Linked DNA regions of Homo sapiens: regions 2, 3, 4, 5, 6 and 7 are each linked to region 1. The links are contacts of gene promoters, found by promoter capture Hi-C in blood cells and fetal thymus (Javierre and others, 2016). All regions are on one chromosome and are shown on one strand. The core of a region is centred on a gene start or on the middle of the fragment in contact, and the rest is flanking DNA. Distances in the headings are between cores, read along the strand shown.

The links. The method cuts DNA at HindIII sites, captures the fragments that hold promoters and counts their contacts. A CHiCAGO score of 5 or more calls a contact.
Region 2: a contact is called between a fragment that was not itself captured here and the fragment with the promoter of SETD3 in region 1, in 3 of 17 cell types (naive B cells, neutrophils and monocytes). The highest score is 5.7, in naive B cells.
Region 3: a fragment that was not itself captured here is called in contact with the fragment with the promoter of SETD3 in region 1 in 1 of 17 cell types (neutrophils); the score reaches 6.6 in neutrophils.
Region 4: a contact is called between a fragment that was not itself captured here and the fragment with the promoter of SETD3 in region 1, in 1 of 17 cell types (neutrophils). The highest score is 5.3, in neutrophils.
Region 5: a contact is called between a fragment that was not itself captured here and the fragment with the promoter of SETD3 in region 1, in 1 of 17 cell types (neutrophils). The highest score is 5.7, in neutrophils.
Region 6: a fragment that was not itself captured here is called in contact with the fragment with the promoter of SETD3 in region 1 in 1 of 17 cell types (neutrophils); the score reaches 7.3 in neutrophils.
Region 7: a fragment that was not itself captured here is called in contact with the fragment with the promoter of SETD3 in region 1 in 3 of 17 cell types (M1 macrophages, total B cells and M0 macrophages); the score reaches 6.6 in M1 macrophages.

Annotation. Positions count from the first base shown.
Region 1 is chr14:99,479,370-99,482,568 of GRCh38, reverse strand. SETD3 (SET domain containing 3, actin N3(tau)-histidine methyltransferase) reads left to right here and starts at 1,710. Exons shown (of 13, transcript NM_032233.3): 1 at 1,710-1,841. CCNK (cyclin K) reads right to left here and starts at 1,160. Exons shown (of 11, transcript NM_001099402.2): 1 at 1,090-1,160. RefSeq lists enhancers at 900-1,269, 2,078-2,579 and silencers at 1,460-1,919, 2,030-2,229. The HindIII fragment of the contact is 7,554 bases long and covers 1-3,199 here.
Region 2 is chr14:100,385,163-100,388,361 of GRCh38, reverse strand. All of the region lies in intron 2 of WDR25 (WD repeat domain 25), which reads right to left. Among named protein-coding and RNA genes, the nearest start is that of WDR25, 10 kb to the right of the region's middle. The HindIII fragment of the contact is 1,585 bases long and covers 648-2,232 here.
Region 3 is chr14:100,362,580-100,365,778 of GRCh38, reverse strand. All of the region lies in intron 2 of WARS1 (tryptophanyl-tRNA synthetase 1), which reads left to right. Among named protein-coding and RNA genes, the nearest start is that of WARS1, 11 kb to the left of the region's middle. The HindIII fragment of the contact is 5,176 bases long and covers 1-3,199 here.
Region 4 is chr14:100,273,484-100,276,682 of GRCh38, reverse strand. YY1 (YY1 transcription factor) reads right to left here. Exons shown (of 5, transcript NM_003403.5): 3 at 1,925-1,985; 4 at 35-193. Among named protein-coding and RNA genes, the nearest start is that of MIR6764, 2.3 kb to the left of the region's middle. The HindIII fragment of the contact is 2,725 bases long and covers 102-2,826 here.
Region 5 is chr14:100,231,870-100,235,068 of GRCh38, reverse strand. All of the region lies in intron 1 of YY1-DT (YY1 divergent transcript), which reads left to right. Among named protein-coding and RNA genes, the nearest start is that of YY1-DT, 5.2 kb to the left of the region's middle. RefSeq lists enhancers at 1,743-2,243, 2,244-2,744. The HindIII fragment of the contact is 5,151 bases long and covers 1-3,199 here.
Region 6 is chr14:100,188,759-100,191,957 of GRCh38, reverse strand. No RefSeq gene overlaps it. Among named protein-coding and RNA genes, the nearest start is that of DEGS2, 31 kb to the right of the region's middle. The HindIII fragment of the contact is 4,292 bases long and covers 1-3,199 here.
Region 7 is chr14:100,068,847-100,072,045 of GRCh38, reverse strand. The region is part of intron 1 of EVL (Enah/Vasp-like); the gene reads right to left. Among named protein-coding and RNA genes, the nearest start is that of EVL, 5.0 kb to the right of the region's middle. RefSeq lists enhancers at 2,819-2,868, 3,029-3,118, 2,474-3,199. The HindIII fragment of the contact is 1,969 bases long and covers 452-2,420 here.

The DNA of each region.
Region 1 (3,199 bases), core at 461-2,960:
GTCACTCTGAATAAGACAATCTTGGATAATTATTATATTCATAGTCAAGATTATTTAACAGGTAAGCATCCTAAGGGCACTTTAATCCAAATGTCTATCAATACTACTACCACTACCATCATCCATCCATTCTTTCATTCAGCAATACAGAGGGCTTATTAAACGTCAGGCAGTGTTCTAGGCGCTGAAAGCTCCTCGCTTTCATTCTAGCAACATCATTCATACAAACCTTTAGCGGGCACCTACAACTGCAAGGCATTGTGCTAGGTATCTGTAAACAGCGATTTAGATCGAGATACACAAACATCACCAAGTTTCTCTTAAAAACACAGAAGACCACCCTTAAGAAATGCTCTTAGAAATAGTTCCTAACCTCAGATGACTTAGCGAAAGCTCCGTTTAACTGGCAGTCTAAATTTAGGGAGCATTACCGAGCCTATCTTGGGCAGACAATCGTTTAGGAGCTGTCACATAACCTCTAGACTTACGCTCCAATTTTCTAAAGAACAATTTCTCTCATAACAAACCAAATCAACCACCAGGAGCGGGTCCGTAAAGACGATGTCTGGGCAAGAACGAAATCTAATCCCGGAAGTGCCTTTTCCTCATCTTAGCCGCACCCTCGTTACGTGGCTCTCCAAAACTCCAAAGTCGGAGTACCCTAGACATGGAACAACCTCCAAAAAGTTTCAGGCCTAGCCAAGGTTGGGACTAATACGCCGCGAAATAATCGGGGAGATATGAGAAGTCTGTGGCTGTGAGACTGTGCGCGGTTAACACCGCTGCCCCTTTTGCCCAACCCCTAGAAAGTTCCCCAACTCTGACTGCCCCCCAGTGCGAGGGCCGCTACCAGTTCTAGGGTGAGTCCGGCCTCCCTGCCCCGCCCCGGCGCCTCAGACCCTCTCTACACGCCCGCCCCACAACCCCGCGTCGCCCGCAAAGTTCAATGTGTACCGGAGGTTAGCGGAGGGAGGCAGAATCCGGAAAGAGAGACTCCGCCAGTGGATAGCGGCGGTTGGCCATAACCTACTCCGACCTCCAGATACGCGGGAGGTGGGCGGCGCTGCCCTCAGTCGGTGGGTCACTCACCCCTCGCTTCAGGCAAGCCCCTCAGCGACGTCTCTCCTTGCCGACTGCGGCCATCTTGTATATGGAATGTCGGGGACCTACGTCATCACGCTGCGTCCTGAGACGCCACCAAGCGACCGGAGGGGCGGAGAGAGTAGGATGCCTGTCAACCAATGGGAAGAAAGCAGAGCTCTCAAAAGAGGAACGAGCCGCCGCTCTCCTCCCCGCCCGCCCCGCGGGTCAGTGGCTGCTGCTTACAGAGGGAGGAGCCAGCCACAGGGCCCATCCCGTCGGTCCCGCCCCTCGGGGCGAAAAGGCATTCTGGAGCAACCGAACCTGCTAACGGAACTTGGGCGCGTAGGCGGGGCCCGGGTCGAGATTCGTCCAATCAAAGCTCTGGCGGGGGCGAACGCAGCCAGTTGCGACATCGTGGTTGGCGGCGGCTGAGCCGGCCGCTCTTGCCCCCGGGAGCTGCCAGCCCACTGGCTGGGGAGGACCCCGAACGGAACGCCGGCTGGGTGGCGGGGCGGGGCCGCGCCCATGCGTCCGAAGCGTGGGCCAATGAACGGCGGCGGCTGCGGCCCGGGGGCGGGGTCCGGGGCGGGAGGAGAAGCGTTGGGCCGCGGTCGCGGGGCCGTCTCAGGCTGCCGTCCCGCCCCTCCCGTCCGGCCGCCGCCGCCGCCACCGCCGCCACCGCCTGGGGGTTGGTTGAGGCGGACGGCGGGGTCCGGGCCGGAGTACGTCGTTCCCGCTGCGCTAGGGGAAGCGGGCAGGTGAGTGCTGGCGGCGGTCTCTGCGCCCGCGCGGCCCGCGGGGGAAACTCGCGCCGCGTCTCCGAGCTCTGCGAGGCCGTCCCTCGCCCTGGCCAGCGCCCCTCGGCCGAAGTCCGGCCCGCGCCCCCGCCAGGGTCCCCGCCGGCCGCTGTGGCCCCGGGGCTTGAAGGGGCAGGTGTGCGCTCGGGGGCCAGGGCGAGGAGGGCCCGGCGGGGTCGGAGGGCGCCGGTCGGCCTCTGCCCGGGCGCCCTGCGGGGCGAGAGGCGCGCGCTCGCCGCTGCCCTGTCCCCTCTGGCGCCCACGCTCCCGGGCCCCGCGCCACCCGGTCTCGAGGTGGTGCCAGGTGCAGGCAGCGCTCTCCCCGAGCTTGCCCCGCTGTCCCCGGCCCTCGCGCCTGCTCTCGGGTGGGGCCCGGGCCCCTCGCGCTAGTCGGCTCGGCTCTGCGCGCGGCCGGGTCGCGCTCCCATTTCCTTCCTTCCTCCCGTCACCCCGCTGCTCGGGGAAGGCTGTGCGGTTTTATGTTCCTCTCTGCGAGTTCTCGGTGCCCACCAGGGTGCCCGGGGACCAGCCCCCGCCTCCTCCCGCGCCGTCCAGTTAGGAAGACGGACGTAGGAAATAGGTCGTCTTTCTTCCCACGCGCCCCTGGCCGTGCTCCACACGCGCAGTGCCCTACTAGGGAGAGGCAATTCGGTGCTTTAGAGTTTGTCATTCCGGCGTTAACTCTTCCTCCTCGTGGCTCCAGCCCGGCGATGCAACTCTTGTCTTTTCCCGGTCTCCACTTGGGAAAAGGAGCTGACAGTGACGCGCGCCCCTGGCTGCGGGGCTCACCCCTGCCCGGCCGGTGTTGGGAGGAGGGCATTTCAGTGTTGCAAAGGCATTCGCGGGTTAGGACCACTCGGACCGTGTTATTTTGCTTTTCTAAATAAATAAGGTGATGTTTCAAAAGCAAAAATACTTTTAAAGTATGCTGACAAATCAATTTTGCTTTTAAGAATCCTCGAAGAGTTACCCCATCTTCGTAGCCTGATTGTGGTGCTGATGAGGCCACTATAAATGCGTTTGTCAGAACTCAGAACCGGACACTGAAAAGTGTGAATTTTATCTTATGTAAAATATACCTCTCCCTCTCCCGTTTTTCTTCTTGAAATGACCTTGCCAGTATTTCAAAACTGAACTAACCAGTAATAATCTCGGAGAAGTGTTTATTATTTTAAGCGAATACATTTAACCCAAGAATATAGCAAAATAAAGCAGTCTTCCTCTCCACTGTTAAAATTTGCCAAGACTTGCTTGAACCTTGCTGTATGTACTGTGTTTATACGGGCTACCATGCGTGAAAGTCCAGCAGTACTGGATTA
Region 2 (3,199 bases), core at 191-2,690, 910 kb before region 1:
AATGAACCAGATGAACGCTATGCATGCACGCACATGCGCACACACACATCACCAATTCTCTCCTCACCTTCATCTAATTACCCTGGATGCACTGTTAATCATTCACTCCCCAAATACCAAAGGCCCACTACCACCACCCAAACCTCCTTCCCAGCTGCGCCTCTCATTGCCAATAGATTTGCCTCGTGCTTAGAATAAATTGCCAATCATCTGCATAATGCTCCACAACTCCTCACTCCACACATCAAATCATTTCTCAATCTCATTTTGTAAAATCCATCAAGAATAATTCTTTCAAAACTGAAATAAACCCTCACTCTGGCACTTAGAGCCATAAATCCCTTGTCTTTGAATGTGAAATAGATCACTTTCTACAAAGCACATCTAAGATATCTTAATGTAATCAGATTCACTAACAATGATAAATCAACAGGATCCTGTGATACATAAAAATGCAAATCCAAACCACCCCAGAAATCATCTCTTCTCTGTATGTCCCTTAACAGAACCACAAAATTTGGAAGCTGGGATAGAGCTTGGACACCACCTGGGTGAAGGGGATGCGCTTTTCCATCCCTTATTCTCAGAGGCAGGAGGGCAGCGTGAGTGGTGGTAGCTCTTTCTGCTCAGGCTCTGAGTCTGAAGCTTCCCTGCTTGCCTCTATCATTTACTAGCTGTGTGACCACGGACAAGTCTCTTGACCTCTCTGTGCCTCAATTTCCTCATCTGTAAAATGGGAATGAGGACAGAAGTGGCCTCTCAGGCCTGTAATGAAGAGGAGACGGAGCGTTTAGAACATGCCTAGTACATGGTAAGCACTCAGCAATGGCTAGCGCTCTCCATCCTCTCATCCATGCTTTAAATGTGACCACTTTGGGGACAGGGAACCAGCTCTCCAACACAGACCTGCCAAGTGTTCAGTACATGAAAAGGGAGTGCATGAATGGCTTGGCACAGACAATCCTCAAACTCTTTAGATTCTAAAAGTATTTATCTCAAGAACACTGAGATTGAAACGCTTTAAAAACGTGTGCATAGAGACAATGAAAAGATTCACAAAAAACAAGAGTTACAGTAAGTTGGAGGATTCTGGGTGATTTGTCTTTTCTACACTTTGTTTTATAACTAATCAAGACAGGTACAGGGGAATCAGAAACATGCTTCCTCAGCCTCTCCCTTGTCAGGCACTAGGCTGGATCTTCTCATTTCAGCTCTACAGCAACAACCTTAATTGGTGGCCATTTACCAATTATCCCCATTTTACCAGTGAGGAACTAGGGGATCAGAGAGGCTAAGTGATTTTCCCAAAGTCACACAGCTACCAAGCAGAAGATTTGGCATGGGAGCCAAGGAGTACAACAGTGGTACTGAAGGTTTGCCAATCTAATCAGGTCCCACTCTCACCACACACAAGGGCTTTAGCTAATGCCTGGGTGTAAATCAAAGCCCATCTTTTTCTTTTTTTTTCTGAGATGGAGTCTCGCTCTTTCACCCAGGCTGGAGTGCAGTGGTGCGATCTGGGCTCACTGCAAGCTCCGCCTCCTGGGTTCATGCCATTCTCCTGCCTCAGCCTCCCGAGCAGCTGGGACTACAGCCGCCCACCACCGCGCCCGGCTAATTTTTTGTATTTTTAGTAGAGACGGGGTTTCACCATGTTAGCCAAGATGGTCTCAATCTCCTGACCTCGTGATCCGCCTGCCTCGGCCTCCCAAAGTGCTGGGATTACAGGCATGAGCCACCGCGCCTGGCCTCAAAGCCCATCTTAACTGCATTAAGGCAGCAAAAAAAGACAATATTTATGTATAGCCATATTCACTGTAATACTGATTATTTTTTAAACAAAAGCAGGAAATTATAGGAAACAACATGGAAATGATGGAGCAAAGTATGAAACTTGAGACAGTTATAAAAATATATTTGGGGAAAAGTTTTTAATAAGGTAGAAAAATTCCCCTTACACGTTACAGAAGATTGGGCAGCAGAGGAAGAATTCAAAACTGCACATACTATGCAATAAGCCCAATTATGTAAACAGATAGGAATGTAGGGCCCCCGACCAGGGAGGCCCCTCATGTTAATGAGGCACTGACTTGGGGTTGGGAGTTATCAATGATTTCTGTTTCTCCTTCATACTTCATATTTCCTGCATCATTAAAGTTTTTCACAATAAGCATCTATTACATTCATGGTCAAAAATTAAAAGGTTTTTTTTCAAAGTATTTTAAGGAAGCTTGTTACTGAAAGAATTTCTAGAGCAAATTATTCTGTAAAGCAAATAAACAACATCTAATTCATATATTTTCTTTAAAAACCTTCTGTGTTTCAGAACTGCAGGTTTTCATACAGGTACAGAAGGTCCCTGGTGGGTCTTCTGTCACCCACCCAAAGGTCTTATTCCTTTGGGACTCCCTCTCAGTGCCTGGCAGAGGGTTCTGTACATGGGAGCATTCAATAACGGCTGGTTGTGTTTTTGGTTAACGCAGGCCACGTACATGTTTTCCTTCAAAAAAAGGCATCAAAGTCTGAATTTCTACCTTTACGTGCAGTGGGTGTTCAAACACGTTAAGCCAAAAGAGTTCACTGGGAGATGAAAAGAGTATATAAAAGGGTATCCGTGCTGGGATCACAGCTATGAAAAAAACAAGCACGTTCACAGACAAGGGGAGGAAGGGATCGTCAGGAAAGAGCAGCGGTGCAGAATTATGAGTCATTGTTTTATTTTACTTAATTTCTCTAGCTGTAAATTTTTCAAAACTAATAAAAGCATATTTTACAGCTCACAGAACATTTAGAACATATTAAAATAAGTATCTTTCCACTGTAATGTGTCCAGTTGAAATGTATGAATTCCGAAGCTACGTTTTAAGGATATGAAGGAACTGGCACTCCATGTTCTTTAGATTAATAAGTTGGACTGTGTTGTTTTTCTCCTGATCAGAAAGAAATCATTTTTCAGTAAATGTTACCTTGAATCAAGGATTCTTCCACATTCTAGAAGCTTGGATGAGCTGCTTATATTAAGTCTTACTGTGCACCCTAGTGGCGAATATGATTTATCCACTCAAAAGACAATCCCTTCCCAAAGGCTTGCGATAAAATCCAAAAAATTTGTTTTAATTTTTATCGATCACTTAACATGTACACAATTTTGTGCCAGATGCTGGGGAATATAAAAATGGGTTCTGGCTCAGGAAGCTTA
Region 3 (3,199 bases), core at 346-2,845, 880 kb before region 1:
TTGTTTCCTTTGTCCTTGTGGGATTATGCTTTAAAAAAAAAAAAAAAAAAGAAGATCTCTGCTTTTGTTGTAGTAGATTTCAGAAATATCATCATCAATACGCATCTTTAACTAGAACATAAGCATTTCATTTCCTTCTGGGGTGACTCCACTCCGGCTTCTCCATGACTTCCATCACTTTTTTTTTTTTTTTTTTTTTGAGGCTGAGTCTCACTCTGTCGCCCAGGCTGGAGTGCACTGGCACAGTCTTGGCTCACTACAACCTCTGCCTCCTGAGTTCGAGCGATTCTCCTGCCCTGGCCTCGTAAGTAGCTGGGACTGCAGGCGCCCGCCACCACACCCGGCTAATTTTTGTATTTTTAGTAGAGAGGGGGTCTTGCCATGTTGGCCAGGCTAATCTTGAACTCCTGATCTCAGGTGATCCGCCCGCCTCAGCCTCCCAAAGTACTGGGATGACAGGTGTGAGCCACCACGCCCGGCCCGACTTCCGACACTTTTAACTCCTGTTATCTGTTATCTTTTCAAACACCTTGCTTGTCACCAGATTGTGTCAACCATCTCACATTCCCCAGTAGTTTACTTTGACTATTTGGGACCCTGATTTAAATCATTATTTGTGTGTGTGTGTGTGTGTGTGTGTGTGTGTGTGTGTGTATTTTTTGAGACAGGGTCTCGCTCTTTCCACGTTGGAGTGCAGTGGTGCAATCCTAGCTCAGTGCACCCTCAAACTCCTGGGCTCCCACCTTAGCCTGCCAAGTTGCTGGAATTATAGATGCAAGCCACTGCACCCAGCTCATATTTTAAATGAAATAAATAGTACTGAAAGAAAGTAATGTCAAAAAAAAGTTACTTTTTTACAGAAAGAGATTTACTCACCAGGTAGGCCTCAAACGATTAAACCAAGTTGTTTTAAAACAAAATTATAAAATAAATAAAAGACCCAGTGGGGTTATGTAAGCCCATCATTTTGGGAAGTTGACAGTGGTATTTTTGTCCATTTAATATTAAATTTGAATAACATTTAGTAAATGTTTTTAGTTAGTAATTCTTAGTGACTGCAGTTATGTTCATTATTTTAGTCAACTTAATACATTTTATAATAACTCTTCCAAGTGTATTATTTGACTAATGCAATTGGCTGGCACACGTTGAAGACATCAGAGGTTGCACAATGAGACCAGAGTTAAGTGGTGAAAAATTCAGAAGTACATTTGTATCTGACCCTGAAATGTCTTGGTAGTAGAAGCACTTGATGTTTTGGAAATTTTAAAAATTAACTTTTAGCAAAATAGTGTGAGCCACATTGGGAGTGCCAGTTCTAAGAGAGGGCACCTTGAGCTCTTTCTTCTCCTGCCATTTATCTAGGCCATGGACCTTGAAGGTCTTTTCTGCTCCAGTGTATCTAAAGAATAAGATCCACATCCTTCAGTAGCAGCAGCTCATTAAAGCGGCAAGTTTCCTAGGGGGAAATAAGTCAGCATCTGAGGGCTGTGAGGGGAAATAGTTTGAGCAGGACTAAAGAAGCAATGCTAGGTCTTAGGTATTAAGAAAGAGAGCAGAGCCTTTTTCTTCTTCTCCTTTTTGTTTAAGTAACTTCTAAAATCAAAATATACCATTCATATAGAAAAACATGCTGATCATAAGCACAAGCAGGCACCTCACTGAATTTTCACAAAATGACCACACCTGTGTAACCAGCACCCAAATCAACAGCAAGCAGAGAGCACCTAGAAGCCACCCTCACGCGCCTCAGCCTCTGCCATGACTCCTCCCACCAGGGGTAGCTCTACCTGGGTTTGAACTGTATGTAATACAGTCTTGTGTCTGGCTTTTTTTTCTGAACATCAGCTTTTGGCGAGGCTCCGTGGCTCATGCCTATAATCCCAGCACTTAGGAGGCCAAGGCAGGAGGATCGCTTCAGGCCAAGAGTTTGGGACCAGCCTGGATAATATAGTGAGACCCTGTCTCTACAAAAAATTTAAAAATTAGCCAGACATGGTGGCACACACCTGCAGTCCCAGCTACTCAGGAGACTGAAGTGAGACCCTGTCTAAAAAAAACTGATGTTCTGGGTTTTTTGTGGGGTGGGGATCTCACTTCATCACCCAGGTTGGAGTGCAGTGGTGCAATCTCGGCTCACTGCAACCTCTGCCTCCCTGGCTCAAGCAATCCTCTGACTTCAGCCTCCCGATGAGCTAGGAACACAGGTGTGTGCCACCACACCTGGCTAATTTTTTCTATTTTTGGTAGAGACAGGGTTTTGCCATGTTGCCTAGGGTGGTCTCGAACTTATGAGCTCAGGCGATCCGCCCGCCTTGGCCTCCCAAAGTGCTGGGATTACAGGTGTGAGCCACTGCACCCAGCTAACATCAGCTTTTGAATCCTGTTTCAGTGTCCTGGTTCAGACACTGATTAAGACTGATTATAAGAAAATAGACAAGGTAAGCCTGCTTGTCTTATTTTGGTGCTATTCCAAAATGCAGATGGTCCTTGAGCAGGGACATTGGTTAAATGTTTGACTTTCGCAGAGCCTCCTAGTTACAAGCAGAATTAGACCAGATAGAGTATGAAATGTCAACAAAGCTAGTTATTAAGTGATATTGACTGCAGTGTACTTCAAAGCAAGGTAAGCCTTCCCATAGATAATTGGATAGATTATACGTACTAAACTGTTATTTTTTGCAAGTACTGAGCCTAGGTACTACAGAAATGAGATGGGTGGAACATACTTAACTATCTAACCTGGGCAAACATCTCATCTATGAATCGTATCCATTGGGTTACTGATTCCACAAATCTGGCTCATTTTAATGATGAGTCTCAGATAATTTTGTAGTTTGAAACACAGATTACTCCAGAATCACAGTCCTTTATGGCCCAAGTGCTATATCTGATGGAATAGTTATCTCTGAATGGAGGTTGGTGTTTATAGAACATTCTGTATATGGTAAAAGGAATTTAAGGAGATTTAAAAGAAAGAATGTTCTGTATAAACTGTAAGTGGAAATGTTTGTATTTCCCTTGGTAAGCAAATTGGGCTGTGTATATTCTTTGTTTGTGATCTAATCCAGCAAGGCCAATTACCAGAATAGAGCTTTAGGGCATAGCATGACTAATCAGCTTAATTAGGCCTGCTTTTCTAAACACCAGGCTTCCAGGGGTGGCCACTATGGACTCCTGCAAAAGAGTCTTTAATACA
Region 4 (3,199 bases), core at 215-2,714, 790 kb before region 1:
AGGCAGTGTGGGGAAGAGAGGGAACTGGCTCTACCTGAAAGGGCTTCTCTCCAGTATGAACCAGTTGGTGTCGTTTTAGTTTTGAACTCTCAACAAAAGCTTTGCCACATTCTGCACAGACGTGGACTCTGGGACCGTGGGTGTGCAGATGTTTTCTCATGGCCGAGTTATCCCTGAACATCTTTGTGCAGCCCTTAAAACAGAGAAAGCAGCTTAGAAGTTCACATTGCAAACTGTTAGAAAGGATTCAACCATTTAACAGCCTTTACTGACATATTAAAACAAAACCACCTCCCCAACCCCCCATTTTAATTTTACTTAGTATTACGGTAGAACATTAATATCATTTAAGACAAAAAGCAGACAGCTGAAAAAGTCATCATTCAATGCAAACCCTAGTTTTACAGATGAGGAAACTGAGGCTTAGAGATGTCTTTAAGTAGACTTGCCCAAGGTCACACTACTAGTAGTAGCCAAACTGGGAATAGAACCCAACACCCTGGCTTCCAGCTCTACCACAGCCACCTCACCCGACTATGTCCCCCAAAATGAAGTAACAGAAGCACTGCTAAGCAAATGGAGTTAAAATGACGGTAGTCCACCACTACCTTTGGTGGCCCCATATTCTGTGCTGCAACAATGGACTGTCATTCTCCATCGCCTACTGTTCCCTCTTCTCTCTTTGCCTCTTTCCCCTTCTTGACAGAGAAAGAAGCAAGAGGGTCTCCAAGGAATGGCAACTACAGAAGAAATTTATTTTGTGAGACACTAGGAAAAGGAAGAAGCAGGCAAATTGATACCAGTGCAGGGCGGGAAAGGCAGATGGATGTGTGGCGCTCGAGAAGCATGTCCTCAACAATTTCTTCTGCAGTTGTTGCCCAGTAATGGAGTGAATGGGGAAATGATAAGACAGCATGACAGAAGGACAGCACAAGTCACTAGACAGCTCACAGGCAGAAGGGAGAGGGAAGCCCCAGTTTTTCCGCCTTTACCCCTAGGTTGAATTTCCATTTAGAAAATGGAAATTTAAAAAATTTAACTGGTACACAATGTATACATGCATTGAAACATCACACGGTACCCCATAAATATGTACAAGTATTATGTGTCCATTATAAAGAAAACTTCAGAGAAGCTAAAGGGATGGCATAGGCACTTCCAGCCTAACTGTTTTCAAATGCTTGTTATTTCGGCCCTAATGGAGATACGTTTACATTTCAAATCGCCACATCAAGAACGCTGACAAAGAACAGGAAGGACTTGCTAGTGCACAGTCATTACAGGGAAGAGACCGTGAAACTAAATGTAGCCTGCTCCGATTGTTCATTTTTAACATTCTTTATTCCACTCAATCTCTCCTACTTTGTTCTCTGTACCTATGTGATACTTGATTTTTCTGTTAGTCTCATATCCAATTAAGTTTGAAAATAGCCCCCAACAAATATCTCAAAAGTACTTTTCAGGTTATCCTTTTATTTTAAAGACTAACTACATTTGAAAACAATTAAGTGCCTCTCTAATCACACACAATTATTAAGTCTTTATTTGGCTTATTTTAGCAACATCCAAAATAATTTTCAAATTTCAGTTACAAGCCTACATTCCCATAAAGGTCAATAGGTGAGACACAACCCAGGATCTTAAGACGGACTTGTTAATATAATCCAAAAAGAAATGAAACGCTAACAGTAGAGTCAACACACAGTAATCAAGCAACGGCTCCCTGCAGTCATCCCATTTAACAGTATTTAAAAAGTTGCCTTTACTAAATAACAAAACTTCATCTCTTGGATTTAGAAACCGAAGATTCTAATTCCTTGCTTCATTTAAATTATCACAAGCAGAAACAAAAGTGCAAATTTCTTATAACTCTCTAAAACTTCATCAACAGTTTAATGAACACTCTCCCTCTAGCATTACTTACTTTATGAGGGCAAGCTATTGTTCTTGGAGCATCATCTTCTTTAATTTTTCTTGGCTTCATTCTTATCAAAAGAAAAAGAGAGACAGACAGATTTGTAGGAGTGGGTAGACTCAACTGGCATAAATCATATAGTCCCTAAAATGCTTTCCTTATAGGTACCCAAACTAAAATTATGATACATTTCCATGAAGCAGAAAGGATGAGACAACTTGCATTCACTAAGTACCAATGACTGTGAAGCACTCTTCCCATCTTACAGATAAGGATGCTCAGGCTAGAAACATCGAGTTGCCGCCTACAGTCTCATAGCTAATAAGCTGGTGCAGCTTAGAATGGCACTATGATCTGTGTGATTCACATACCTGTTCTTAACTCCAAACCCTTTAAAAAAACACAAAAAATCAACTCAGACAATCAGATGAATCTCCTTGTGAGAGGCAAGGGAAGATTTCCAAAGGCAGCTGCTGCGATGATGAAGGTGCCTTATGAAAAAGAAGCGGTGAACACAGGAGTGTCCTAAAATATCCATCTCTATACACGAAATGGGTCCAATTAGTACTGACACGAATGATCTTTAAAATATATCATTTTAAAGGGTACAGAAGAGTCCTTTTAAATCAAGATTTATAGATATTAAATATCAAATATCTCTGGAAGGACACACGACAAACCATTAGCACCAGTTACTTTGGGGAGAGAGCTCCTAGGGCCTGGTGGACAGATGGGAACACCACATACTCTCATACTGTTACCCTACTTCTGGATGGGGGCTTGGAAGTTCTCATTTGTACCAAGAGTCCTGGTAATGTGGTAACCGTCTGGCAGAGCCCCAGGTGAAATTACTGTCCAGAGAGCCTCCTGGTTTGGTAACTTACCTACCTGCTTCTCCACTGAATCAAGCTTTGGACTTTTGTCAAAACTTTCTCTCCAAATATTCCCTATAGATCTGTGTGTGGTAGGGGGGTGAGAAATTAAGCGTTCCTAAAAAAACTAGAGAATAAATTTAAATCTCGGAAACAGATTTTCTTTTTGTCCCTAGTTTTACCCCTCTCACACCCCTCCATGATGGTTCATATTTAATAAATAAATAAATCAGCCGGGTGTGGTGGGTCACGCCTGTAATCCCAGCACTTTGGGAGGCCAAACTGGGAGGATTGCTTGAGCCCAGGAGTTCAAGACCAGCCTGGGAAACACAGTGAGACTCTGTCTCTACAAAAAATAAAAAAATTAAGCCTGGGCAACATGGACAAAACCCTGTCTCTATCAAAAACAAAT
Region 5 (3,199 bases), core at 513-3,012, 750 kb before region 1:
GAGTAAGCAGAAGAATAAAGGCTATTAAGAGATGCTGATACCTCTCCTTCCTTGCCTAGTCCAGACAGTGTGTTCTCCTTTATTGATTACAGGGAGGCTATTAAATCTGATTCAGCTATATCTCTAACAGATTGGGATTGATTCAAGTCATGAACTCATGCTAAATAATTTTCCTTATCAGAACTAATTTGGCTGCCTCATGAAATTGCTTTGTGGTTCTAATGTTTAGTTCTTTTGCAGTTCCTTCAAGTAGGAAGGAAATAGGTGCTCTGCATCAGTTACAGTATTGAGACTGTTAGAGCCAGATGGGGCATCTAGTCCACATTTCATTTTGCAGACAAGGAAACTACCTAGGAGATGTGCTCAACGTCACATGGCGGTGTGGTAAAAAGGTAGTGATTGAGGTGAAAAGCGAGAGCTTGACTTTCCTGCCTTTTGTGAGACTGCAAAACCTATGTAAGTTTCAGTAGTGTGATCCTGTTCCAATTCACATCCACGCCCAGTTTTCAATGAAATGTTTACAAAAATCAGAATGAAAATTTTTGTGCATGCATCCAAATTAGTTACCCCTAGTTTGGATCCAAGTTAAATGAAAAACTAGGTATGTACATGTTCTTAACTGTCTAAACTATAGATACCTTCTTGGTTGTGGAGTCTTTGAAACCTGAGCTATTAAAGGGATACTTTCCCACCAAATCAATGCATATATTAGATTTGGAGTTTAAATTATGGTGAAATACCCTGTGTTTGTTTGTTTTTTTTTTTTTAGACAGGGTCTCACTGTGTCACCCATGCTGGAATGCAGTGGTGTGATCTCTGCTTGCTGCAACCTCTGTCTTCTGGGCTCAAGTGATTCTCCTGACTCAGCCTCCTGAGTAGCTAGGATTATAGGTGCATACCACCATGCCCTGATAATTTTCTTATTTTTAGTAGAGACGGGGTTTCACCATGTTGCCCAGGCTGGTCTCAAACTCCTAAGCTCAAGCAATCCACCTGCCTTGGCCTCCCAAAGTGCTGGGATTACAGGCATAAGCCATTGTACCCGACCCCTAACTATATACTATATATGTTTATATGGGGTTTTTTTGTTGTTTTTTTGAGATGAAATCTCACTCTGCCACCCAGGCTGGAGTACAGTGGCACAATCTTGGTTCACTGCAACCTCCGCCTCCCGGGTTCAAGCAATTCTCCTGCCTCAGCCTCCCAAGTAGCTGGGATTACAGGCACGCACCACCACGCCCTGCTATTTCGTTTTTATTTTTAGTAGAGACAGGCTTTCATCATGTTGGCCAGGCTGGTCTTGAACTCCTGATGTCAAGTGATCCACCGGCCTTGGCCTCCCAAAGTGCTGGGATTACAGGCACCATCCACCGCACCCAGCCTCCTAACTATATGTTAATAGGTGAAATCTCACGTCTATAAAGCTGGCACCCTTTATGTAGTATTTTATGTCCTTTTATAAGACCTTAATTAAATTCTTTTTCTTAGGCCAAGTGGTTTATTACAATGATTGAACCTGATTATTGCCCATAAATATAAAGAAAGTTGAAATCTTTAGTAATAGATTAGCCTCTGTTTTTCTCTGCTTTGCTAGTATAACGTCCCTCCAAAGAAGAAGCTAAATCAACTTAATTGTACTGAAGTTGCTCCTACTGCCCACCCATCCCAACAAATATGGAATGCACAATTAAACAGAATGGAATTTTTTTTTTTTTTTTTGAGACAGGGTCTCACTCATTGCCCAGGCTGGAGTGCAGTGGCAGGATCTCAGTTCACTGTAGCGTCAACCTCCCCAGCTCAAGAGATCCTCCCTCCTCAGCCCTCCAAGTAGTTTGGACTACAGGCATGCATCATCACACCCAGCTATTTTTTGTAGAGACAGGGTTTTGCCAAATTGCCCAGGCTGGTCTTGAACTCCTGAGCTCGAGGGATCTGCTCGTATCAGCCTCCTAGAGTGCTGGGATTACAGGCGTGAGCCTGGCCAGAAATTCTTTAATCCATGGTAACGTCCTTTTTTTTTTTTTTTTTTTTTTTTCTGAGACAGAGTTTTGCTCTGTCGCCCAGGCTAGAGTGCAGTGGCGCGATCTCAGCTCACAGCAAGCTCCACCTCCCGGGTTCACGCCATTCTCCTGCCTCAGCCTTCCGAGTAGCTGGGACTACAGGAGCCCGCCACTGCACTTGGCTAATTTTTTGTATTTTTAGCAGAGACGGGGTTTCACCGTGTTAGCCAGGGTGGTCTCGATCTCCTGACCTCATGATCCACCCGCCTCGGCCTCCCAAAGTGCTGGAATTACAGGCGTGAGCCACCGTGCCCGGCCAATCCACGATAACTTTCATAGCCACACTGGTTTTCACAGAAGCACATTTATTGCAGTGTGGAAAATACAGGAAGTCGATTCAGGTATTTGTGTGTGTGAGGCAGGTGAGCGTGGTGGAGTGGGAAGAGCTTATGTGATTTGGGAGTTAACTTGTCCTCTCTGTGAAACTGGGCAGTAACCTTTCTGATAGGAATTTTTTTCTGTTTGTCAGAAAGGAGTGACGCCCCACAGGGAGTTAGGTGAGACCAGCTGTTCAGTCACCATTTACCTCGCACTTGCAGTGCAAGGCCCAAAGGATAGATATAGCTGTGAACAAGAACAAGACAAGCAAGCCTGGCTTCACAGAGTCTACAGGCCAGAGGGACTTCGGCTGTGAACAGATAGTTCAAAAATACATATCTAAAAAATTTCTTTTTCTTTTGAGACAGAGTCTCTCTCTGTCGCCTAGGCTGGAGTGCTGTGGCACAATCTCAGCTCACTGCAACCTCTGCCTCCCGGGTTCAAGCGATTCTCCTGCCTCAGCCTGCTGAGTAGCTGGAACTACAGTCATACGCCACCACACTCGGCTAATTTTTTTGTATTTTTAGTAGAGATGGGGTTTCACCATGTTGGCCAGGCCGGTCTGGAACTCCTGACCTCAAGTGATCAACCTGCCTCGGCCTCCCAAAGTGCTAGGATTACAGGCATGAGCCACCGCGCCCAGCCCATACCTAATATTCATTTATAGAAGTCCTACAAAGAAGTGAGAGTTTGGGGACAGAGAATCTAGCCTAGCCTCGCAAGGTAAAGGCCTTCATGAGAAAGGGACATTTCAACTGTGACTTGAAAGTTGAACACAACAAGAAGTGCCCATCCCAGTGTTTGGCTTTTTTTTTAGTGTT
Region 6 (3,199 bases), core at 263-2,762, 710 kb before region 1:
TGGACATGGAATTAAGCCTTACCGATTTATCTTGGTGATAGCCTCTCCCAGAGAAGGTCAGCTCTAAAAGGGAAGAAAAGTCTGTCCCCAGTTATAATTCTTTTTTTTCCTTTGAGACAGAGTCTCACTATGTTGCCCAGGCTCTAGTGCAGTGGCGCAGTCTTGGCTCACTGCAAGCTCCGCCTTCCGGGTTCAAGCGATTCTCCTGCCTCAGCCTTCCGAGTAGCTGGCATTACAGGCACCTGCCACCACGTCCAGCTAATTTTTTTGTATTTTTAGTACACACGGGGTTTCACCATGTTGGCCAGGCTGGTCTCAAACTCCTGACCTCAGGTGACCCGTCCACTTCAGCCTCCCAAAGTGCTGGGATTAGAGGCATGAGCCACCGCGCCCGGCCTGTTATCATTTTATTGAGTGTAGTATTTTATATTTTATTCCTTTAGCTAGTCAAGAAAAAAAAAGGAATAAAATATAAATCCAGGAGGCAGAGGTTTTGGTAAGCCGAGGTCGCGCCACCGCACTCCAGCCTGGGCAACAGAACGAGACTCCGTCTCAAAAAAAAAAAGCAAAAAACAAAAAAGACAGCCCGAGCGCGGGGCTCACGCCTGTAATCCCAGCACTTTGGGAGGCTGAGGCGGGTGGATCGCAAGGTCAGGAGATCGAGACCATCCTGGCTAACAGGGTGAAACCCCGTCTCTACTAAAAATACAAGAAATTAGCCGGGCGTGGTGGTGCACGCCTGTAGTCCCCGCTACTCTGGAGGCTGAGGCGGAAGAATCGCTTGAACCTGGGAGGCGGAGGTTGCAGTGAGCCAAGATCGTGCCGCTGCACTTCAGCCTGGGCGACAGAGCGAGACTCCATCTCAAAGAAAAAAAAAAAAAGAATAGACTAATCCATTTGTGGGTTAATAAATTAATGGGTTAGCATGTGAGTAGAACTACATACATGCCTGAGGGCTTGATGGAAGGCCGACCTTGATTAATTAAGGTATCTGGCAGAAGAAATTTATTTCTTTCTCTTTCTTTTCTTTTCTTTTTCTTTTTTTGAGAGAGAGTCTAGCTCTGTTGCCCAGGCTGGAGTGCAGTGGCACAATCTTGGCTCACTGCAACCTCTGCCTCCTGGGCTCAAGTGATCCTCTCACCTCAGCCTCCCAGTAGCTGGGACTACAGGTACATGCCACCATGGCTGGCTAATTTTTTATATTTTTAGTAGAGACGGGGTCTTGCCATGTTGCCCAGGCTGGTATGGAACCCCTGGGCTCAAGTGATCTTCCCACCTTGGCCTCCCAAAGCGCTGGGATTATAGGCTTGAGCCACCTTGCCTGGCCAGAAGAAATTTCTAAGTGTGAAGTGAAATAAAATATAGAGACAAATCTCTAAATTGAAAAAGTTTTATTTGAAAAGCAAGAATGGCAATTTGGGGCATATAAACAGACCAGGTAGTTTTCAGTATGTCTGAAGAACAAAGAGAAGGTTGGAGGTTTTATAAAAAAGAAATATTATGCATTGTTTTAAAAGGAAGTTCATGGCTATTAGTAAAGTTTTGGGGAGCTGACAAGCTCTGGTGAGCAATGATGATGCCGCAGGTAAAACTAGTCTTAGAGTTGCACCAGGTTGTTTCAGTAACAGGTGGGTAAACTGGTGTCATGTTACAGCAGGCAGTTTCAGCAGCCAGGTTTGCAGAGAATGACATTCTTGGAGCAATGTTATGTGACCCCAGTGCTTTTTCCTCCTGGCCTCTCAACTCTGTTTTAGTTGGGTCTGACAACAGTAACCTGGTTGTATGATCAACTTTCACATTAGCAAAACAGAGATGAAGCTGCATGATGACTTATACTAATAATTCTTTTTTTTTTTTTTTGAGACAGAGTTTCGCTCTGTCGCCCATGCTAGAGTGTAGTGGCATGATCTCCGCTCACTGCAAGCTCTGCCTCCTGGGTTCACGCCATTCTCCTGCCTCAGCCTCCCAAGTAGCTGGGACTACAGGTGCCTGCCACCATGCCTGGCTAATTTTTTGTATTTTTAGTAGAGACGGGGTTTCACCGTGTTAGCCAGGATGGTCTCGATCTCCTGACCTCGTGATCTGCCCGCCTCGGCCTCCCAAAGTGCTGGGATTACAGGCATGAGCCACTGCGCCCGGCCCTTTTTTTTTTTTTTTTGAGATGAAGTTTCACTCTTGTCACCCAGGCTGGAGTGCAGTGGCGTGAATTCAGCCAGTGCCACCACACCTGGCTGATTTTTGTATTTTTAGTAGAGATGGGGCCTCACCATGGTGGCCAGGCTGGTCTTGAACTCCTGGGCTCAAGTGATCCACCTGCCTCAGCCTCTCAAAATGCTGGGACTACACGCTGGGACATGGTGCCCAGCCCTGCCTAATTTATTTTAAAAAGGAATTTATTTCTTACAGTTACAGAGGCTGAGAAGTCCCAGGTCGAGGGGCCACATCTGGTGAGGGCCTTCATGTTGGTGGGGGCTCTCTGCAGAGTCCTGAGGCAGTGCAGGGTATCACATGGTGAGGGCTGAGCATGCTAGCCCACTCTCATGATAACCCGTCAATCCAATGGCACACTAAGCCCTCATGACCCAGTCACACCCTAAATGCCCTACCTCTCAATATTGCTACATTGAGAATTAAATTCGAACATGAATTTTTTTTTTTTTTTGAGACAGAGTCTTACTCCATCACTCAGGCTGGAGTGCAGTGGCGAGATCTTGGCTCACTGGAACCTCCGCCTCCCCGGCTCAAGTGGTTCTCCTGCCTCAGGCTCCTGAGTAGCTGGGATTACAGGTGCCCACCACCATGCCCGGTTAATTTTAGTGTTTTTAGTAGAGGTGGGGTTTCACCATGCTCACCAGGCTAGTTTTGAACTTCTGACCTCAAATGATCTGCCCACCTCGGGCTCCTAAAGTGCCGGGATTACAGGCGTGAGCCACCACGCCCGGTCTGAACATGCATTTTGGAGGGGACAAATATTCAAACCATAGCATTCTGCCCCTAAGTTCCCCAAAACTCATGTCCTTCTCACGTACAAATATAGTTATTCCATCCTCGTAGCCCCAGTGCTGTAACTAATTCCAGCACCAACTCAAAAGTCCAAAGTCCAGAGTCTCATCTGTAATCCCATGAAATCAAAGCAAGTTATCTACTTCCCAGATACAATGGTGGCACGGGCATAAGGCGGACACTCCCATTCAAAAGG
Region 7 (3,199 bases), core at 187-2,686, 590 kb before region 1:
TGTAGGTTGGTTAAGAGGTGACTGCCAGATCTCCAATGGAAAGCTATATTTTCCCCTTAGTAATTATTAAATCATTTATAGGGTGCCATTTTTTTTTCTTAATGGGCACAGGTGTGAAACAGGTTTCATGCTATGAAGTAGACTTAAAATGTTTATTGTGAAGTACTTCAGGCCTGTGAGAAGTAGGTTCCCACGATCCCACCACACAGTCTAGGAAATCTGACAGCAAGTCATAAAGCTGTTTAGTTCAAGTGACGCCTGCATCCTCCTCCCAGACCCAGAGCCCCTCCTCTCTACCAGGGGGAACCGCCACCTTGCAGGTGGTATTTTCAATTCCATGCTTGCTGTCTGTAGTGCAGCCATACAACTGACTATTTTACACACATAGTTCTCAAACTTTTTTGGTCAAGAGAACCCCTTTACACTCAATTATTGAGGATGCCAAAAAGCTTCTGTTTTATGTAGGTTAAGTCTATCCATATTCACCTTATTTGAAATTAAAACTAATAATTTTTTAAAACACAAGAATATACAAGCAGACATTTCATTAGCTGCCACAGTGATGATGTCAAAACATCACATAGCTCTGGAAAATTCCACCATGAATTCATGAGACAAGAGCTGAAATGGCAAATGATGTCTTAGTAATATTATAAATACAGTTCTGATCTACAGACTCCTAGGAGGGTCAATCTCTGGAGTACATTTTGAGAACTGCTGCATTACAGCAATGAAAGACAATGAATTAGCTCTCTGCATATTAACATGGGAAACCCAAATGGTGACTGAGCCCCATTTTTGAGAGTGTTAGAATTAAAGAAAGGCTTTGGGTAAATAAAGTCTACATTCAGTGTTAAACCCTGACACCTTCTTTTCTATCCAAATTGGTTGCCCACATCATGGGCAATCAAGACGTTTGCCTTTTCTCCTTGGATGTCACCCTCTCAGATGCCTGGACAGCTGGTCTCCATTACTCTGTGAAGTCTGGTGCAATCTGGAAAAACACTCCAACCAACTGTTGGGGGAGTCTGACATTCCTAGACTGACCCTGTCTCATATGCATCTCCCATACTCTTTCAAGGCCACCGGCGTAGCCCTTTCTTTGGGGAGCCATCTGACAGCCACGTGGACGTTAAGGCTACTCAAACCTCAAAAACATTTATATATTTTGCTCTGTGTCTTCATCTCAAAATTTGTGTCCCCAGAGTCTGTGACTCTGATCACTTGTGAAGTGGAACAGGTTTTAGCACAGCCTTGGGACAACTGTAGAGGCCTGGCTTGGGCCAAGGATTGGGACAGTATGTTCAGCTCCAAGGATGAATCAACAGCCTGGGAATGAAGACCCCGGCTCTGCCCTTACAAACACCCCTGAAGACACAAGTAGCCACTTGGACTCTGTGCTATTTACTAGGCACAGGGACAAACATGAATGCATAACACAAGCGTCCTGCTCTGAAAGAGCTCTAGGCTGGTAGGAGAGATCCTGAGCCGACAGAGCATCGACAAGAGATACGCACGCAGGCACGGGGTGCTACAGGACAGACGAGGTCTCTTTTGTCTCTTGTGGTATTAACAGCACAGAATGACGGAGACTGCAAAATAGAGATCAGGAGGGCCTCGATTCTACCCTTGACTCTGCAAATTGGGACAAGTTTAGCTTTGAGAAGTTAAAGCTGAGAGGGCAGATTTTGATCCTCTCAGAGATCAAAAGCTCCGTCAAGTGACAACAATGTGACCTGGAATACGATACTTTGTAGGCCCTTGTTTTCTTTTCTTTTTGAGGTAGGGTCTTGCTCTGTCACCAGGGTGGAGTGCAGTAGTGTGATCACAGCTCACTGCAGGCTTGAACTGCTGGGCTCAAGCAATCCTCCCACCTCAGCCTCCTGAGAAGTTGGGACTATAGGCTTCAGGCATGCACTATCACATCTGGCTAATTTTCATTTTTTAATTTTATTTTCTTTCTTTCTTTTTTTTTTTTTTTTTAAGAGAGGAGGTCTTACTATGATGCCTAGGCTGGTCTTGAACTCCTCAGCTCAGGTGATCTACCTGCGTTGGCCTCTCAAAGTGTTGGGATTACAGGAGTGAGCCACCATACCCGGCCAACCCTTGTTTTCTTATCTGTAAAGTGGCAATAGTGATACCAGACCTCAAAGGATGAGAATTAAATAGTATGTATATCATGTAACTAGCGTAATGGTTGGTGTATAACACTGAGAAAAGCTGAGCTGTTGTTATTTTCCTCCTCTGTGGGTTCAGTTACCAAAGCAAAGCCATTGGACTACACTAGTTCTCATCCATTTTCTGCCCCAGCCCACCTGAGTATCGTAACATTCTCATGAGAATAACCTAGAATCTCCAGAGGAATGTTTCTCAACTAGAGGCACATGGGATTCTTTGAGACAGAGGAAGGCAGAGAAGCTTCAGAAGCTCTCCAAATGATTTGGCTACAGGTCTCTAGGGAAGTGCGGGTTCCCATGGAGAGTGAACGGACTACGTGATCTCTGAGGGCTTGTTCAATTGCCTCTGGGACTCTCTGACTTGCCCGTGAGGACTGGAAATACCTGTGAGAAAGGAAACACCAGGTGTTCCTGGAGACTCCTCCAAACCCTCACACAAAGGCGTACAATTAGGTGCGAAGGATTGTAAGCTGAACCCCGGCTGTGCGAGACTTCTTATATCTTTACAGCTTCAAGATGTGCAGCACAGTGGAATAAACAGTAATGACTGTGCCCAAGCAGCCACAGCTCCTTCACTACCTGACAGCAAGTGAAATGTCTGTTTTTCTGGTCTCTTCTCTAACATGCCACACCAGGAAGCTCCACTGAGTAGCAACTTTGGTAGCACAGGAATCTTTAGGACCATATATCAAAGTAGTTAATTAAATCCAGCAGTTCAATAAATGTGTATTGCCAGGCAATGTTTTAGGCACTGGGGATACACCACTGAACAAAATAGGCGAAAATCCCTGCCTTCTGGGAGTTTACATTCTTGAGGGGTAAAGACAGTATACAGTAGAACAAGTAAGTTCTATAATACGTTAGAAGATAGTACGTGCTTCGGAAAAACCCACAGCCTACCAAAGACAACAGAGAGACCAGGGAAGGAAACGAAATTAACTGGCTGGCCCCAAAAGTGGCAGACATATCACACATCCATATCACGTTTCCTGCTGCTGCACCGCGACCTCAGCTACTTCCTG